Regions from separate parts of the Homo sapiens genome. Here regions 1, 2 and 4 are each linked to region 3. Evidence: promoter capture Hi-C in 16 types of primary human blood cells and fetal thymus (Javierre and others, 2016). All regions are on one chromosome and are shown on one strand. The core of a region is centred on a gene start or on the middle of the fragment in contact, and the rest is flanking DNA. Distances in the headings are between cores, read along the strand shown. Region 1 overlaps HOMER2 (homer scaffold protein 2). Region 2 has its middle 6.5 kb from the start of MIR4515. Region 3 holds the start of RAMAC (RNA guanine-7 methyltransferase activating subunit). Region 4 overlaps HOMER2 (homer scaffold protein 2).

The links. Contacts are between HindIII fragments. The CHiCAGO score rates a contact against its expected background, and 5 or more counts as called.
Region 1: a contact is called between a fragment that was not itself captured here and the fragment with the promoter of RAMAC in region 3, in 2 of 17 cell types (M2 macrophages and megakaryocytes). The highest score is 6.4, in M2 macrophages.
Region 2: a fragment that was not itself captured here is called in contact with the fragment with the promoter of RAMAC in region 3 in 3 of 17 cell types (neutrophils, naive CD8 T cells and total CD8 T cells); the score reaches 6.2 in neutrophils.
Region 4: a contact is called between a fragment that was not itself captured here and the fragment with the promoter of RAMAC in region 3, in 8 of 17 cell types (megakaryocytes, M2 macrophages, M0 macrophages and 5 more). The highest score is 17.8, in megakaryocytes.

The regions. Positions count from the first base shown.
Region 1 is chr15:82,909,640-82,912,341 of GRCh38, forward strand. The region is part of intron 1 of HOMER2 (homer scaffold protein 2); the gene reads right to left. The region is part of intron 2 of LOC105370928 (a long non-coding RNA gene); the gene reads left to right. Among named protein-coding and RNA genes, the nearest start is that of HOMER2, 42 kb to the right of the region's middle. The HindIII fragment of the contact is 5,351 bases long and covers 1-2,702 here.
Region 2 is chr15:83,072,441-83,075,208 of GRCh38, forward strand. No RefSeq gene overlaps it. Among named protein-coding and RNA genes, the nearest start is that of MIR4515, 6.5 kb to the left of the region's middle. The HindIII fragment of the contact is 7,362 bases long and covers 1-2,768 here.
Region 3 is chr15:82,984,848-82,987,547 of GRCh38, forward strand. It overlaps RAMAC (RNA guanine-7 methyltransferase activating subunit), which reads left to right and starts at 1,363. Exons shown (of 4, transcript NM_031452.4): 1 at 1,363-1,522; 2 at 2,489-2,537. It also overlaps a transcript of HOMER2 not described here. The HindIII fragment of the contact is 1,767 bases long and covers 779-2,545 here.
Region 4 is chr15:82,862,310-82,865,009 of GRCh38, forward strand. It overlaps HOMER2 (homer scaffold protein 2), which reads right to left. Exons shown (of 9, transcript NM_004839.4): 4 at 1,858-1,950. Among named protein-coding and RNA genes, the nearest start is that of WHAMM, 54 kb to the left of the region's middle. The HindIII fragment of the contact is 3,796 bases long and covers 1-2,700 here.

The DNA.
Region 1 (2,702 bases), core at 91-2,590, 75 kb before region 3:
AAGAACAAGGAAGTTAAACTTTAAAATGGAGAACAAAGAACCAGAGAGCTGAACATACTGACATATTGGCTCTTTGAAGAGGAACTCAGAACTCATTGTACTTAACAACTTTTCCACTCTTGGATTTTAAAGGAAGTTAACAGGCTAAAACCTTTGAAGAGGAATTTTACTGTATCCTACAGTTACATATCATATTAAAAGCTAACTTGTTTCAGCTGGGTGCGGTGGCTCATGCCTGTAATCCCAACACTTTGGGAGGCCGGGACAGATAGATCACCCGAGGTCAGGAGTTTGAGACCAGCCTGGCCAACATGGTGAAACCCCGTCTCTACTAAAAATACAAATTAGCCAGGCATGGTGGTGTGTGCCTGTAATCTCAGCTACTCAGGAGGCTGAGGCAGGAGAATCGCTTGAACCTGGGAGGTAGAAGTTGCAGTAAGCTGAGATCATGCTACTGCACTCCAGCCTGGGTAACAGAGCAAGATTCTGTCTCAAAAAAAAAAAAAAAAAAAAAAAAAAAAGGCTAACTTGTTTCCCTACCTTTACTGAGAAAGGTAAAGAAAGTGACGGACATCTCAAATACACATTAAAAAGATGATACTGCCAGGTGAGGTGTCAAAGCCCCCACATTGTAAAGTGGTTGACTCGTGGGTTGGTAAGAATTTACTGACAACCATATAGGCTTGAAGAAGTTTTATTAGAAAGAAGGAACGCTGCCGAGGAGTCCAGTGGGGTGAGTCGGTGAGAGGACTGAGCACCTTATGGTGGATTTTTCCTTAGGGGTATTTATGGACCTTAAGGCAGGAGCTTGAGGGTAATTTGGACCATACTAGCCACGTAGGTCATGATAAATGATTACATCTGTAGTAATTCTGGTGCCTTAATGTCAGCAAGGGTTGCACAGTACGTTTTGGCATGGCATTCTGGAGATGTATAGAAATCCTAGTGACTTATAAATTTTGGGGGAAAGAAATCTGGAACCAGATGCCTGCTTTAGATAATAGGGAAGTGCAATTACTTCTAATTTCCCAGATAAGGAGTTTGCCTCGGAAGGCGTGTTTGATGGTCACCAGGTGGTCTTTGCTCCCTTCTAAATTCCTCAGATGGGAGTTTTTGTCTCCGGGGCCTGTTCAATGGTCACCAGGTGATTTTTGTTCTCCTCAGAAACATTCTTCATTTTGTCTCAGCAACGTAACAGTGCCTAGTTTCAAGTCTGGTTTCTGTCAGGGTCAAAGTTAAACAAGAGGAAGGCTGCTCCACACAACTTTTCCGTTTCTCTTCTTAAGGAGTAAGGGAGGAGGGTTCAGGGCTAAGTCCCTTCAGTCTGTGTGAGGTAGGGACATTAATATAACCACCTCAAGGGTTTGTTAAGATTAAATGTGATAACATGTGCAAAGTGCCTTTTTGCTATTAATAGCAGACTGTTAAAGGAATGTTATGTTGATTATAGGTGTAAGACGCCACTGCAGGGAAGAGAATCCCTTTGCCACCTTAGACAGCTCAACCCTCCCATAGAGAATCTAGCTCTCTCTCCCTATTACCATCAGCAAATTAAACAAAGAAATCTTCAAAAAGAATAACTGTGCTTTTATAACTTAAGAAAATTGTTCAAAGTTTAAAAACTTAGAAGTCTAGGACTTGTTTTTTTCCTTTACTTGCAAATTAGTTCTAGTTTTGGCAAACTGGTTTTATGGTTCCCAGGTACCTACCCTTTCAGGTTTCCAGGTAGCAGCAAGAAGTACCCTAGTACCACTTCTAGAAGCCAGTCGTTGTAAATGTACGGCTACCACTCTGAATTTAGGTTTAGGGGAAAAAAAGCTGTTTTTTTATTTTCCTAGGAATCACTTTAGTTTAAAATTAGATTGCATGGTGTAAAGAGCTGGTAACTTGCCAAGTCAATTACAAAAAGTGTAAAGCATAAAACCAAAGGTGCAGACATACCTCAAAAGAGTGTTTATATTTTCATTTACACTATCAGTTGGTCTCTCAGGCTAATGGCTATATGTGTGTGTTCCAATAAAACTTTATTTACAAGAACAGTTGGCAAGTATAGAGTTGCCAGATTTGGCAGATAAAAAGACAGGACTTTCAGCTAAATTTAAATTTCACGGCCGGGTGAGGTGGTTCACACCTGTAATTCCAGCACTTTGGGAGGCCGAGACAGGACCTCACCTGAGGTCAGGAGTTCGAGACCAGACTGGTCAACATGGTAAAACCCCCATCTCTACAAAAGTACAAAAATTAGCTAGGTGTGGTGGCAAGTACCTGTAATCCCAGCCACTTGGGAGGCTGAGGCAGGAGAATTGCTTGAACCCAGGAGGCGGAGGTTGCAGTGAGCCAAGATCGCACCACTGCACTCCAGCCTGGGCAACAGAGTGAAACTCTGTCCCAAAAAATAAATAAATGAATTTAAATTTCACATAAAAAATGAATAATTTTTAAAGTTATTTGTATTGAGATATAATGTGGACACCATAAAATCTACCTTTTTAAAGTCCCCAATTCAGTGGCTTTTTATTCACAGAATTGCGTAACCATCACCACTGCTTAATTTCAGGGCATTTTCAGAGCACCCCTCAAACCCCGTACTCATTAGCAATCATTCTCCTCTTCCCCCAGCCCCTAGCAACCACTAACTTACTTTCTGTCTCTCTGAATTTGCCTGTTTCAGGCATTTCATATAAATTGAATCATATAATATG
Region 2 (2,768 bases), core at 127-2,626, 88 kb after region 3:
CTTAAAACTAATCCTTGACAGGTTCAAGGTGATCTGTTTGAAGACATATGTGTTGTCCTACACTTTTTCATCTACAATGTTGTCAAGAAAATTAAAAATTATGAGGCATATTGAAAACATGAGAGAGAGGGAGAGAGAGAGAAGATAATGGAATCAGTTCTATAGGATTCAGGTATTGAATTTATCAGACAAGGACTTTAAAATAACTATGATTGCACTTTGGGAGTCTGAGGGCAGGTGGATCACCTGAGGTAGGGAGTTTGAGACCAGCCTGGCCGGTATGGTAAAACCTTATCTCTACTAAAAATACAAAAAATTAGCTGGGCGTGGTAGTGGGTGCCTATAATCCCAGCTATTTGGGAGACTGAGGTGGGAGAATCGCTTGAACCTGGGAGGCGGAGGTCGCAGTAAGCCAAGATTGCACCACTGCACTCCAGCCTGGGCCTGACAGAGCGAGATCCCATCTCAAAAAAAAAAAAAATAAAAATAATAATAATAATAATAATAATAAATAAAATAACTATAATTACTGTATGAAAAAAATAGAAAAAAGATGAAGAATTTTACCAGAGAATTGGAATCTGTGCAGAAGGGTCAAATGGAGATCCTTGACCTGAAAAAGTACTATAACAAATTAATAACTAATTTGTGTTTAATAGAAAATTAGATATAGCAGAACAGAGAATTAATGTAACTGGAAGACAAGCCTGTAGAAAATGTTTAAATTGAAACACAGAGAGAAAAAAGCATAGAAAATACAGAAAACAGGCCAGGCACAGCAGCTCACACCTGTAATCCCAGCACTTTAGGAGCCCAAGACAGGCAGATTGCTTAAGGCCAGGAGTTTGAGACCAGCCTGGGCAACATGGCAAAGCTCCACCTTTACAAAAAATACAAAAATTAGCTGGGCATAGTGGTGTCCAACTGTAATCCCAGATACTCAGCTGGCTGATGCAGGAGAATCACTTGAACCCTGGAGGTGGAGGCTGCAGTGAGCCATGATCATGCCACTGCACTCCAGCCTGGGCAACAGAATGAGATCCTGTCTCAATAAAATAAATAAATAAATAGGAAACAACATATGTCTGTTAATTCTGTTAATCATGAGACAAAGTGAAAAGGACTAACATATGTATAATGGAGTCATAGAAGGATGATAGAGAATGAGGCAGAAGAGCATTTGAAAAAAATACTGGCTGGAAAATTTCCATACTGATGAAATATATCAAACTACAAGGAAATGTAAGCCTTTGCTACTCTTGCATTCTGCATATCTGCAGACTTAACACCACGTGGATGCCACCAAGGCTTATGGCTTGCATCCTCTGGATAGGCAGCCTGAGCAGCACCCAGGGCTGGAATGTAGGAAGCAGAGTCCAAAGGTGGCTGCAGGGCAGCAGCACCCCAGGCCTGGCCCCCAAAACATTCTGTCCTCCTAGACCCCTGGCCTGTGATGGGAGAGACAGACTTGAAGATTTCTGAAATGCCTTCAGGGACTTTTTCCATTGTCTTGACTATTAGCACCTGCCTCCCTTTTTTTTTTTTTTTTTTTTTTTTTTTTTTTTTTTTTTTTTTTTTTTTTTGTTAAAGACTGTCTCGCTCTGTTGCCAGGCTGGAGTGCAGTGGCATGGTCTTGGCTCACTGCAACCTCCACCTCCTGGGTTCAGGTTATTCTCTTGCCTCAGCCTACCAAGTAGCTGGGATTATAGGCATGTGCCACCATGCCCAGCTAATTTTTGTATTTTTAGTAGAGACGGGGTTTCACCATGTTGGCCAGGCTGGTCTTGAACTCCTGACCTTGTGATCTGCCCACCTTGGCCTCCCAAAGTGCTGAGATTACAGGCGTGAGCCACCACGCCTGGCCCGAGCACCTGCCTCCCTTTTATCTGTGATAATCTCTCTAACAAGTGGTGGCTCAGCTGTGCTCTTGGATTCCTCACCTGAAAATGTTCTTTCCTTCTGTACCACATGGCCAGGCTGAGAATTTTCCAAAGTTTTACTCTCTGCTTCCCTTTTAAGTTCCAATTTTAGATCATGCCTTGACTCCTATATCTGCTCATAATCTGTTAAAAGTAGCCACACCATGTCTTGGATGCTTTGCTGCTTAGAAATTTCTTCTACCAGATACCCTAGGTCATCACTCTGAAGTTCAGCCTTCCACAAAGTCCTAGTGCATGGACACAATGCAGCCACGTTATTTGCTATAGTTTAACAAGGGTGACCTTTGCTCCAGTTCCCAATAAGTGCCTCATTTCCAACTGAGACCTCATCAGCCTGGCCTTCATTGTTCATGTTTCTATCAGCATTTTGCCCACAACCACTTAACCAGTCTCAAAGTTTCAAACTTTCCCTTGTCTTCCTGTCTTCTTCTGAGCCCTCCAAACTCTTCCAACATCTTCCCATTACTCAGTTTTAAAACCACTTCCACATTTTCAGGTATCTTCCTAGTAACCCCCGACCCTTGGTACAAATTTTCTGTCCTAGTCCATTTGTGATGCTATAAAGGAGTACCTGATGCTACATAATTTATAAAGAAAAGAGGTTTATTTGGCTCACAGTTTTGCAGGCTGCTTCTACTCATGGTGGAAGGCAAAGGGGGCAGCTGGCATGTACAGATCACATGGTGAGAGAAGAAGCAAGAGAGAGGGGAGGAGGTGCCAGGCTCTTTCAATAATCAGTTCTAATGAGAACTAAGAGTGAGAATTCACTTACTCCCATGAGAATAGCACCAAGACATTTATGTCGGACCTGCCCTGTGATCCAAACAC
Region 3 (2,700 bases), core at 113-2,612:
CACAATGTTATACACTCCAGAATGTAGAAATGCATTAGATAAAGGCCTGTTTACAGTTTAATAGGGGGAAAGACTTGCAAGTAAATAATTTTAGTTCGAAGTTAGAAAGTGGTAATAACTAAATACATGAAATTCCAGAAATATGATGGACTCTCAATAGAAAGAAAAATTATTTCTAGGTAGAGATGTCACTTTCTAAAGCTTTAAATAATGGAAAGAATTTCAACATTTGGAGATGAGGGGGAGAGACAGGTATTTCATGCAAGGGACATGAGCAATCTATAAAAATGTAATAATTTATGCATGACGTACTTCACAGGGTCTGGTTTACCACTGACTGAGGGAGAATGGAAGGGGAACAGCAGAAAATAAAAAAAGTTTTGAATCCAAGTTAATAAACTTGACCTTTAATCTACAGGCAACAGAGAGCCATTGGATCAGCTATTTTGGATCACGGTGGTGCTTGAAGATGGCTACACCTATAGCAGGTATATGTAAGATAGGCTAGTAGCAGAGTGATGCTAGAGGCAGGACATCAATGAGAAAGGTACTGCACTGACACCGTGCAGGGGATGGTAATGAGAACGTTGATTAGGTGGGGGCAGTGGGTAAGAAGATGCAAGAATTACTGTAGGGGTACAATCGACAGGACTTGGCAAGTGATTGGAGCATGGAAAGGCAAGAAAGGGCATCAAATCTGACATCAAAGTTTCCAAGTTGGTTGTATTAACAAAAACGGGTGCATAGCCTGGGAAGTAATTTGGGAGGGAAGAGGCCAAGCTTTGTCGGGATATTAAGTGTTTATACATTTGCTGAACATCCCACAAGACATGGGCAAGACTCTTGGAAGTAGCTGGATACTGACGACTGAAGCTGGAGCAGAGAGGGGGTATGTTTCTGCAAAACCACATACAAAACGGACTACGGAAATCTTACTACCGAGGCTTGCCCAGGCAGGAGAGAAAGGTGTAGCATCCCTGAAGTCATCAGTCGTGTCTACTCTTCACCGCCTGCTCTCACCTCACGTTCCCCACGAAGACTCCGGGAGCAGGCGGCCGGAAGGAGCCCTTCCCTCCCTTCTCCGGTGATTCCCAGAACTTCCGTCTCTACCCGTCACCTGCTCCCAATCAAAGGAGCTTAATAGACGGCGACGTTTTCGACTGCCCAGCCACCAGGCAGGCTGAAAGTGCATGGAGGGCATCATCCACCTTTAGACAGCTACTTGCCCACACCTCATCGAGCTCTGGGCGTTGTGCCAGCATTTGAAGAAGCGATCTGTTGCAAAGCGATCCACACGGAGAGCCTTAGTTATCGCGAGACTTGACAGGCACCCTCAACTTTAGCCCGCCGGAAGCGGAAGTCAGGTGGTTGTCGGATTTTAGAGGAAGGCGCTCGGTTACATTGGAGAACTGGAGTGGTCTGGAGTTCCACGGTGTAGTGGACCAGAGGCCACCTCTCCTGGGCTTCTCAGTGTCTCGCCGGCGGGGTTCGGCCTGAGCTGGATTGACATAGCCCTTGGCGGGTGAGTCGCCCCGGACGCCCGGGAGGAGGGAGCGGGGCGGCCGAGCTGGGTGGCCAGCGAGGTGTCCTCCCCCTGTGCGGTGATCTGTACTCTTTGCTAGACCGAAGCCCGTTTACTTCTCACGGCCCATAATTTCCCTCACTTCTGGAGGTATAAGGTGCTTCGGAAGGGAGCAAATCTGCCAGAACCTTGGTAAGCAAGCTGTGATGTGCCTTGAGGACGGACTGGAAAACGCAGTTGTTTTCAGTCTGCATCTTCGTCTGTTCCCCGGGCTCACCTCCCAGGGCAGCGAAACCCCATTCTGGTTGGTTATTTCCAGGGTTAGTCGCCCGCAGCCAAAGTTCTTTGTGGTTTTATTTGTGGTGAATAAATTAGCAGTATTCAAGTACAAATCTGAAAGGCTTACCCTAAAAGAACATACATACTTTATGAAGTTTGTATTCATACTTGAACTATTTTGCTTTTGAAGGCCCAGAGGACAAATCTTGTAGCTTCTTGCTCTTGAGAACCAGTTCCCTCTTTGGAATATTAGCTTTGGAAGTCTTTAGAGCGTTTTTTTGGTTTGTTTTTTGTTTTTTTTTTGAGACGGAGTCTCGCTCTGTCGCCCAGGCTGGAGTGCAGTGGCGCGATCTCCGCCTCCCAAGTTCAAGCGATTCTCCTGCCTCAGCCTCCCGAGTAGCTGGGACTACAGGCACATGCCACCACGCCTGGCTAATTTTTTCTATTTTTAGGAGAGACGAGGTTTCACCGTGTTAGCCAGGCTGGTCTCGATCTCTTGACTTCGTGATCTGCCCGCCTCGGCCTCCCAAAGTGTTGGGATTACAGAGGTGAGCCACCGCGCCTGGCCTTAGAGCACTTTTACTCCAATTCTTTCCTTGAATAAGACTCTTATGCGCCACCCTCCCCTACAAACACCTTTTGAGAGTTTCCTTAAATAAAGTCAAGTTTGTTTTTTTCCTCCCACAGATTTAAACAACCTAAACATTAAGCAGTACAGCTGCCTCAAACCTTTGGGGTAAGTAAAGCTTGGGTCGATTAACATTCTATTTAAATTTCGTTCTCAGTAATAATACAGTTGATATTTGTTTACATGAGTATGGGTGGGGAGTCGTGGGAGAACATATGAGAACATAAAAATGGAGTAGCACCTTTTCCTTGCCTTATGATTTTTACTGCCC
Region 4 (2,700 bases), core at 139-2,638, 120 kb before region 3:
AAATAACATCTTATTAGGTATACATGTATTTTTAAGGTTTAAAATACTTAGCTTATGCCTGTAATCCCAGCTACCTGGGAGGCCAAGGCAGGAAGACTACTCGAGCCCAGGGGCAGCACAGCAAGACCCCGTCTCAAATAAATAAACTTTTGAGAGGGGGTAAATATTAAAACAAAATCTTATCTGGAGAAATTCAGATATTAAACTTAAATATATCACTGTACTATGCGGTATTCTGAAAAAGATAGTATATTAGAAACTTTCTAGACCATGGACAATTTCAGATGCTGAATTTCATAGGTCCTCAGAGATTAATCAAGTAATTAGCATACAAAATTAATGGTATCACTGAATCATATTAAAGATTATTTAGAAAGATTCAGGAAAGTTCCTGTCTACCTGAAATCGAATTCACATGCATTTCCATAGGTCCATGTGGGCATATTTTATATGATGAGGCCAGAACAAGGTATTGGAAAGACAACTCAAGGCAGACATAGGTTCTGCCTTTGTGAAACATCCTGAGCCACACCAAATCTCCTGTCCCAAGGGTCGGCCACAGCACTGACAAACCCAGGGTCCCTGTCAGCATTCTCTCCCCTCCTCTCTGAGCACCGACATATTGGGCATACTCCCTCCTGGGGCTCAGCGATGCTGGAATTTCTCCCTCCCTGTCATCTTTGCTGGCTCCCATTTCATAACTGGGCCTATTTCCTAGGGCTCCAGCATCTGCCCTCCTCTCTCCACTGCTTCTTTGTGCACCCGAGACTGCAGCTACTGCCCCTGTGAGGCTGATGGTCAAGTCTAGAGCATCGATCTTGACTGCTCAAGATGCCCAGGCCTCCTGGTTCTCTTCCTGCAACCTGTCCTCATTTGCAACCCCCTCCCCGGGCTTCCCTGGCCCAGCTATTCTCTCCTTCACAGCCCCCTCGACAATCTTTCTGCTCTCAGTCCCTCCCTGCCTGCCTTACCATCTGCAAGCAAGCCAACCCTCTCAGGTGAAATCCAAATCAACAGTCACAACACACTTCCAACGTCCACCAACTACTCAAGAATAATTAAACAAGTAGCTAATAAATAAAAAATTACCCAGTAATGAAGAATTCTAGGTCTTCACAGTATCTCCAAGCACATCTCAACGCCTCCGACAGCACACCTCAGCTGCCAGCAGGCAGACTCCTGGCTATCTTGCTAGTATATCACACTTACTCCTGCCCCTAAGTATTCTCTCCTGAAGTCTCCCTTTCCCTGGCTTTCTACATATAACCCTGTCACTAGGTCGACTTCCCCCACCACCACATATACTAATCTAGACATCAGGAAAGTGGGTGTGTTGATTTCAGATTAAAATAGGTCCTTTTCAGTCAATCTTCACACTTTAGACAGACTACTGAATTCCTGGCCAAGCCGGATCTCCTCTGTTAAGACAGAGCTGTTGGAATAACCACTTCCACCTGACCTCTGTTAAAACCGGAGATGAACACAAGGGCTGTCTGACATCAAGTCTCTCTCTTGTGGGCACAAGGTACCCTACACAGAAACTCACCTCCCAGCACAGCCAGGAGACATGCTGCCTCGCCTCTGGCATTTAAACACAGTGACCACAGAATGTCTCTCCTGGGCCAGGATGTGTATTAACTCAAATCACATCAACCATTTTCTGTCAGAAATACAGTACCACATCCTAAAAAATTCAAGAGTCTCATAAAAACATGTCACTGTGATCAGGCTAATAGTTGAAAAAGCCTTCAAAATGACCTATTGTCAAAATTCCCTATTTCTGGCCAGAAGTGACAAGGAACAAAGAGTCCCTATCACCAACCCCACTGGGATTTACTTCATAGACTAATGTCTTACTTGGGAATGATTACTTGAGGTCTCGATTTTCTCCTGCGTCTTGTCTTTGGCTATCTTGGCAGCTTCTTTCACCTCCTGGAATTTCTCTGCAAACTGAACATGAAGAATAGTTATTAAGGCTTTTATTAACCTCACTCATGGCTGGTATTCAGAACCCACCTTTATTTATTTTGCATCCATTTTAGGCCCATACATTCTGTATAAATCCAGAAGAATTTTATTTGCTATTAAATGAATATAAGGATGTATATTCCAGTAAACAGCACTGGGCAAGGTCAGTTCTGAACCCATATCTAAGCTACTGAAGCTAGTTTGATGATGATGTATTAAAAACAAACTAATACAAAAATGGCAAATGAAATTTGGCTATACCACAAAAGAAATCCACGGAAAACTTCATAATCCATACCGAAAAGATCCAAAACCTCTTAGTGTCATTTTTTTCTAGATGAATACTAAGTATTTAGGAGTGAAATGTCTTGATGCTTATAGTTTAAAGTACTTCAAAAACAATAAAAGAGATGAAGAAATGTGGTAAAATGTTAACAACTGTTAAATCTAGGTAATGTGTATATGGGTGTTCATTATACTATGCCCTCCACTTTTTATTAATATCTTAATAGTTCCATAATAAAACAGTTCTTCAAGTCCTGGGACAATCATATCACCCATTAGCTTATTGCCACTAACAAGGTGGCCAATTTTAATTAGCAAATTCATTGTTTGAACAGAGAATAGCCTGTGATAATGGTGGTATTACAAAGTAAGAGCTAAATATGGTTGCAGACAAAACAAAAACTAGCAAGTTGCAAGGCTATCACCAATTCTGCAGGTTTTATTGAG